2 separate regions of the Homo sapiens genome follow, and region 2 is linked to region 1. Evidence: promoter capture Hi-C in 16 types of primary human blood cells and fetal thymus (Javierre and others, 2016). All regions are on one chromosome and are shown on one strand. Each heading gives the region's core, a stretch centred on a gene start or on the middle of the fragment in contact. The rest is flanking DNA. Distances are from core to core; before and after follow the strand shown.

Region 1 (4,003 bases), core at 718-3,217:
ACTGTAGCAACAACTTATGAGTTTTTCAGTCAATTTAATTCCCAGGAACATAAATGAAAACTGGTGCCAATAAAAAAACAAGTAAGCAAGCAGAGAAGCTGCCTTGAATTTTGACAAGGTAAGGATAGTTTACACCAACGCAATGAAAAATAAGCCTTTGTGTAGTCTATAAGAGTTTTTGAAATAGTTTTATAAAAGTCTTTAAAAGTGCCGGGTGCTGTGGCTCACGCCTGTAATCCCAGCACTTTGGGAGGCTGAGGCGGGAGGATCACTTGAGGTCAGGAGTTTCAGACCAGCCTGGCCAACATGGTGGAACCCCGTCTCTACTAAAAATACAAAAATTAGCCAGGCACGGTTGTGCGCACCTGTAATCCCAGCTACTCAAGAGGCTGAAGCAGGAGAATCGCTTGAACCCGGAGGCGGAGGTTGCAGTGAGCCGAGATCACGCCACTGCACTCCAGCCTGGGCGACAAAGCAAGACTCCATCTCAAAAAAAAAAAAAAAAAAAAAAAAAAAAAAAAGTCTTTAAAAGTCAAAGCAAACTGGTAAACCATTAGCAAAACCACAAGCTACCATGAAAAGATACACAAAAGTATCTGGCAACCAAGGTCTAGAGCTGGTTCCAGAGTGTGAAAGGTTTTCTGATTGCTAATAAACCCCATTATGCACACAAGATATCTTCACTTAGCTGTGTCGTTTCTAAAAAGGCAACAGGGCCCAGAAGTTTCAGTGAGCCAGTCCTGGCAAACCCAAATTATGAAAAATATACCCTCTGCTTAAAGATTAACTACAAACCTACCCTGGGACCAGCTTGCTTCAGTTAAGTTTAAAATGGTGCCTAAATTGAAATGAAAGTCTGTAGCATAGATAAAGAGAAAAAAAAAGTCAAATGGAAAAGTAAATTTAAAAGTTTCTATTTCCAATAAACTGCGTCTCAGAAATCTTCCAGGAGATAAAGACTCGGAAGAACAGAGGGATTGAGACCCATTCGCATTCTCTGAGGCGTGCGCACTACGCGGAAAGGATGAATGAATGGAAGACGGGCGCGTGTGAAATGCAGCAGGTCCGGCCGGCAAGCCGACCGGCTACAGCGATCTGTAGGCCTCGCTCCTCCCCCTTCCCTCCTCCATGACAGCCCAGTCCCAAGCATGGAGGGGCGAGGACAATGTGATACCCCTTCTCACCACCACCATCCCTCATTCTACTTGGAGAGCTTCACCGTGACACACGAGTGTTCCTTCCCACCCCAGACCTTTCTCGCTTCCCCTGGCGCAAACACCGGCAACTCTCCGGCGCGCTGGATTAACAGACGCTCGCCCCTCTCAACTCCCCTAAGCGAGGTCGAAGCTCCTCCGCGCGTGCCGCGGCACCACTCCCGCCTAACCCACCCTCCGGCAACACTCGCCCACCAGCTCCCCAGTCCACCGGTCTAAGGAAGACGTGCGCGCGCCCCGCACCCGAGCCCCGGAGCTGGGGTTCTGCAGGGAGGGAAAGGCTGCTCCAGGGCTCCCTCCTCCATCTCACTCCAGGCCGGCTCGCCGCCCACCCTGCCTGCGGATCCCAGTACTCGCTGGGAGCCGGCCCTGCGCCTTCCTATCATGAAGACACCATCCTCGCATACCCAGCCCAGAACCCCAGCTACCCTCCACCCTGTAGACACCTCGCGGTTCCGCAGGAGGCGCCACGCCGCCCCTCCCCCACACCGCTCCCCCAGTTCTCGGGCCCCCACCAGAAAGTGTGCGCTACACGCCGCCTCGGCCATCCTCCGGGACGTCCCCACTTGTCCGCGGGAGGTCAGGTCCAACATGAAGGGGAAGGGGCGGCAAGGGGTACAGTGCGCGCCGGGAACGCCGTCCCGCGGAGTCCCCCAGTCAGAAGGAAGACGGAGCGCGGGGACCCGTGGGGGTGGGGGCCAAAGGCAATACTCACCGGTTCGACAGTCGCCATCTTAGATCGATCTGATCGCACAACCGCTCCAGAAGGGGGGGTAAGAGGAAAAAAATGAGATTCAAACCGGATTGGCCAGCTTCTGGCCACGTGACGGATATGTCCGTTTGGCCCTGGCGGCACCTGCGCAAGACTGCGGCTGCGTGAGTAACGAGAGGCTTCTGGGAAGTGGAGTCTCTCCCCCACCTTTTTTTTTTTTTTTTTTTTAAGGTAAAGAAATTTTTTTTAAAAAGGACTGGTCACGTGGCCGATGGGTAGGGTGCGCGGTTCTCAACGCGGCGGACACTCGCTTGCTGGAGGGTGGTTTCAGTCCTCTGCTCTTCCGCCTGGATAGCTGCGGTCACACTTACTGCCAGGCAAGCCTACTGTGCCCTTTGTCGCCCTGTCCTCCCATCTTCCCCGGAAGGTTGGGAACTGCAGGCTCAGCACACACAATAAGGCTTCATTTGCTTAGTTGAGGTCCCAGGACAAGTTGCCTGTGTGTTTATTTAGTTTTCTTTTGATCTCCCACCATTTTCTCTTAGTTTCAAAAAGAGGCGGCGATGCAGAGTCGTTTAGGCAATCAACCCTCCCACGTCCCCTGGCTCAGCTAATGCTGGTGGTCATTCGTTGCCATTTCTGCGAAAGGGGACGGACGGAACCGCCCGCAGTACCCGCTTGCCACCGGCTGGACGAGGGGGAGGGACGACAGCTTTTACTGTCCCAAATCCTGAGATTAAGACCTCAGGGCTAAATCTTGCGTGGCGGTAAAAATTATTTGGAAGTTCTGTGCAACCGTTCCAATATTCCGCTTTTACGTGCACGGAAATAGCCTAAGTCCAGATGCCAGCCAGGGAAGCCACTCCGGGCCCCGCTGACTAAGCCCTGGACTGATGGTCTGGAGTCTTTAGGCCGGGTCAACTATGACTCTTGACGTTGACTCATTCTCCTTAGGCGAGTGACTTAATCGCTCGGCGTCTCAGCTTTTTTATTTATGAACCAAAGGTGATGATACACTTACCTCACAAGGGTGTGCTTCGTAATGACTGTAACCGGCTTTGAAAATGCATCGGACTCTAGAAATGATTCATAATAAGCAACTGCGTGCCTTCCTAAAGATCAAGTGCTTCTGCTTTTTTTTTTTAGCAAAGTTTAAATTTTTTTCTGTTTACTTTGTTTGATTATGATGTACACCAGTGTAGTTTTAAATGTTCAGGACCATTTTTTTTCCTTTACAACTGCAGCTGCCCTCAATAGAGGCTTTAATGTTCATGAAATTATTGTTATGCTCACAACAATCACTGGCAATCAGAAATTTGTCCCCACACTGGCATCCTACATTTCCTTTCCCTCTAAGATACTGTGCTGTCATTTCTCAAGACCGTGTTTTTTGCACAGTTTGGCTACTAATAACAACAAATAGAGATGAAGAAATCTAGTAGACTCCTAAGGTTCTAATGAAGAAGACACTGTCTCATTACTATTTCCCATGCTTTTAAATAATGTTGACACCAGGAAAAGGAGTGTATGCAGGCTGCCTGTGCCTGTCTGCTTATAGTGTTAATGAGGTCCAGAGCTGTGTCATACCTATTATTGAGTACATAATGGATGCTTGAGTTGACTAACACATAATTGAGGCTGTATGAGAACTCAAAGCCATTGCCTGTTCATATGTTTTGGTTTACCTGAATATCAGAAGTGATTAATGAAAGCTTTTGTCTAGTGGGCTTAGCTCTACTAGGTTTTAAAGTAGATAGAATTAACAGGCCAGGCGCAGTGGCCCACGCCTGTAATCACAGCCCTTTGGGAGGCCAAGGCGGGCGGATCACCTGAGGTCAGGAGTTCGAGACCAGCCTGACCAACATGGTGAAACCCTGTCTCTACTAAAAATACAAAAATTAGCCAGGCATAGTGGCACCTGCCTGTAGTCTCAGCTACTCAGGAGGCTGAGGCAGGAGAATCACTTGAACCTGGGAGGTGGAGGTTGCAGTGAGCCAAGATCCCGCCACTGCACTCCAGTCTGGGCGACACAGTGAGACTCCATTTCCAAAAAAAAAAAAAAAATGATAATAAACGG
Region 2 (4,003 bases), core at 547-3,046, 3.8 Mb before region 1:
ATTTTGATTAGAGAAAAAAAGTAGGCATGTTAAAGTGATACAGGTTGACCTAGTTAAGATGCCTGACTGTGCTGGGTGTCTTTGTTAATAAGGATGACGAGATGTGATTTGAACAAATCCACCTTCAGCTTGGCTCTAAGGCTGTAGTGGTGAAACCTACATAGGTCTGGAAAGCAGCGGCTAGTAAGGAAGAAATGAGTCTTGCCTTTCCTGACTCCTCCTCCTGTTCCACATTCCTCTCCTTCCACCCTCGCAGCCTTCAAACTCACCATGTTCTAGAGTTCTCTGGCAGACTGGAATGTTCAAGATGAGTTTGAAGCACCACTGGAAAAAAAAACAGGCTCTTATCAAACGTACCAAAGCACTGCAAAGGGGGGACAGAGCACTATTTCTGAAGTGTAAAAGCCATTTAAATATAATCTCTGGGCCGGGCACTGTGGCTCACATCTGTAATCCCGGCACTTTGGCAGGCCGAGGCGGGTGGATCACTTGAGTCCAGAAGTTCGAGACCAGCCTGGCCAATATAGTGAAAACCCATCTCTATTAAAAAATACAAACAATAGCCTAGTGTGTTGGTGCACACCTGTATTCCCACCTACTCGGGAGATTGATGCACGAGAATTGCTTGAACCCGGAAGGCGGAGGTTGCAATGAGCCAGGATCATGACACTGCACTCGACAGACCGAGACCCTGTCTTAAAACAAATAAACAAACAACAACAAAAACAAAAACACCTTTGGCTCATTGGTTTTGTGTCTGGTTACTAAAATGCTAAATAATATATACGTTTTCCAGCAAGCTGTGCAGAAAGCTTTATGAGATGCTGGAGCTCTGTTATTGTGGGCTTTTGGTGTTACTTGATATCTCTTCACTGAGGATTTCTTATGAAGTGAAATTGTACTTTTCAATAGGAAGACCAATAATTGATGTACCACAGGAGAAAGTTTTAGTGATGCTGTGCACAGGTCATTAATCTTGTTAAATGGTGCAGTGTGATGCTATTACTGCAGCAGACAGCTATGATTTAGGAATAACTGTGTTTGTTTGCATAGTATGGAATTAGATAAAAGATTAAAACTTATCAAGTGTTATAAACAATCTGGGAGTATTGAGTGGAATACAGACTCCCTGGGTATTTTTATGTTTGCTTAACACTAATTTCAAAGACACCTTTCTACAATCAGCAGAACCACCTGCTTGTTTCTATCACAAAGAAGACATGAACATCTGTTTTAGTCATATATAATTTTGCATGAAAAAAGCTTACAGAATTTTACTTCTACATGGTTTTAAGGGTACCTTTTAAAAATATATTCAAACTTAATGAACCTAAAACTAAAAAGCTACATTGTAACAGGTGCCAGCCTTGCAGATGATACATTTTTCTAACATTTCTCTTCCTCAGTGTCTAAGGCAGATGGGAAAACTCATGACAGAATGCTGGGCTCACAATCCTGCATCAAGGCTGACAGCCCTGCGGGTTAAGAAAACACTTGCCAAAATGTCAGAGTCCCAGGACATTAAACTCTGATAGGAGAGGAAAAGTAAGCATCTCTGCAGAAAGCCAACAGGTACTCTTCTGTTTGTGGGCAGAGCAAAAGACATCAAATAAGCATCCACAGTACAAGCCTTGAACATCGTCCTGCTTCCCAGTGGGTTCAGACCTCACCTCTCAGGGAGCGACCTGGGCAAAGACAGAGAAGCTCCCAGAAGGAGAGATTGATCCATGTCTGTTTGTAGGACGGAGAAACCGCTTGGGTAACTTGTTCAAGATATGATGCATGTTGCTTTCTAAGAAAGCCCTGTATTTTGTGATTGCCTTTTTTTTTTTTTAAGATGCTTTCATTTTGCCAAAATAAAACAGATAATGTGGATGGTTTAAGGGTTATAGTATTATAGTTTAAATAATAACAACAAAATTCTTCCCAGGAACTCTGCTGGAAGGTAAATTAAAATACTTGTTTTTCCATTGGTAAAATATTGTTGCACTCTGTGAACCAAAAGACAGTCTAAGTTGGAGGACATAGAACGGAACTCATCTTAAACATACTCCCCACCCCGTCTTGGCCTCCTCAGACCACTTTGGCCATCCCTGCATTTGGGGCCGCTATGGTAATGTGAATGCACTGGGTACAAACACCGCCTGTCTAGGACCACATTTGGAATTCCTGCAGGTGGCCTTTTGCAGCTTCAGGCAATATGGAACAAATGAAGGTTTATGTGACTCTAATAGAAGTAATTGTTGATAGGTGTTCTTCAGATCCACTTCTGTTTCTGATTGAGTTAGGCATCTCTTTCATGGTAAAACCCTTTTCATTAAACACAAAGAAAGCTTTTTTTTTTTTTTTTTTTTTTTTTTTTTTTTAATGTGCAGAGGATTGACCTGTGCATGCTTTTGATCTCTCATTCAAAGGATCAATATTAAATAAAATTGTCATGAGCTGTGTTGAAGACAGGGTGCTTTCAAATAGAGGTAATTTGCTCTTGTGTTGTAAGAGGAACATGTCAACAAAGATAGGAAATGAGGGTGATCGTGCAGATGGCTTGTATCTTATATATGCAAAGGAGCCAATCTCAGAAGCACAAAGAAAAAAGTGTGCATACCTTATTTTGTACAGATAAAGATGATGTCTTTTTGTTATTGTCTGTCTGTTTTGTATGTGTCTGAGATAAGGGATAGAGAGGAAACATCCGTCAGGCTAATTTAACTACATTTTATTTTAAAAATAGAGAAACATAACCTCTAGATGGGACAGCAGAGGACAGTTAGTAGAGGCCACAAACTGTTATGGGCTGCTGTGTTTTGTTCTAAAATCAATATGGTTGGAGCATGTATATCTTAGGTGATCATTTCACATCTTAGGAATGCCTACTCATTTTATTTTATTCTAGTGATGCTCAATTCACTATTTAATTTATTATATTTTCTCTTCTGTGGCACTTATACAAAATATCTCTTCACCTACTTAGTTCTACAGGGTTTTAACTTTGGAGCAACATGAATAAAATCATCGAGAAGGCCAATATTGTTTAGCAACATGAATACAATACAGTTTAAAGTTGTACACATCCTGCTCAACTTTATTCATATACATTTCCTTTCTGTGGTTTTCTTTTGCTTCTTAGAAATTCTGTTAGTGGTTAGTAAAGAATTTGAAAGTACTTTCTCCTTGCTGTTTTTTTTTTTTTTTAAGACATTCCTCCCAGAATACTCCAGGGGGCAGTGTTTTATAACACATTTTCCCCACTGGGTGATTGAAGGATGGAGGATTTTTGAAAATTTGACAGCTACATGAAACATGAGAAAACATTTTCCTCACTTCTGAAGTCGGTTTGCAGCTGGTAACTTGTTCATCCAGAAAACATTCTAAAGCAATGAGACTTTGTGAGCTGTGCTTACAGTTTGGGAGAATCATGAAGATTCTTTCTATATTTTGCATTTACTTCCCAGTGCTTCATAGCTGCATTTTGTTTGTAACTAAGACAGAAGAATTTCGTAATCCTTGAAATTGAAAAAAAAAAAATTGTGTTTTTAAAGAGTGAAAACAGTTAGAAAACAAGTAGAACTGTAATCAGAACGCTGCTTCAATTGATATTAAAAATAACCTCAATAATAATGTAAAGGTTCCTTTCTCTTGTGTCAGTTATATTCTTAGGGATAGCCTAGAAGGAATATATGGTTAGAACTAAGTGTGACTAATCATCTGAGCCTTGAAGAGAAACTTCAGTGCCTCTAAACAGATCATCTACAAAACAACAGGTAAACATTTATGCCAGTTAAGTGGGTCATGTTTTTGTTTCTTGGGTTTTTCCTAAATTTAAGTGAGGTTGGGCTTACCTTGTAGATAAAATTATGTTTTCTTTTTGGTAAATACTTGAACGTGGATAACGTCAAATCAGAATATTTTGTGAGGAGGTGATGATTTGAAATTAAGCTAGATTTCTAGGGAGGTGTTGGTTCCAATGAAGGATGGGAAGAAATTAAAATAGTCTTCAAACTTC

Evidence for each region. The method cuts DNA at HindIII sites, captures the fragments that hold promoters and counts their contacts. A CHiCAGO score of 5 or more calls a contact.
Region 2: a fragment that was not itself captured here is called in contact with the fragment with the promoter of EIF4E in region 1 in 1 of 17 cell types (fetal thymus); the score reaches 6.9 in fetal thymus.

What each region holds. Positions count from the first base shown.
Region 1 is chr4:98,927,166-98,931,168 of GRCh38, forward strand. EIF4E (eukaryotic translation initiation factor 4E) reads right to left here and starts at 1,968. Exons shown (of 7, transcript NM_001968.5): 1 at 1,930-1,968. The coding sequence starts at 1,947. RefSeq lists an enhancer at 2,362-3,561. The HindIII fragment of the contact is 5,241 bases long and covers 1-3,636 here.
Region 2 is chr4:95,153,142-95,157,144 of GRCh38, forward strand. It overlaps BMPR1B (bone morphogenetic protein receptor type 1B), which reads left to right. Exons shown (of 13, transcript NM_001203.3): 13 at 1,407-4,003. The coding sequence ends at 1,532. Among named protein-coding and RNA genes, the nearest start is that of UNC5C, 390 kb to the right of the region's middle. The HindIII fragment of the contact is 1,070 bases long and covers 1,262-2,331 here.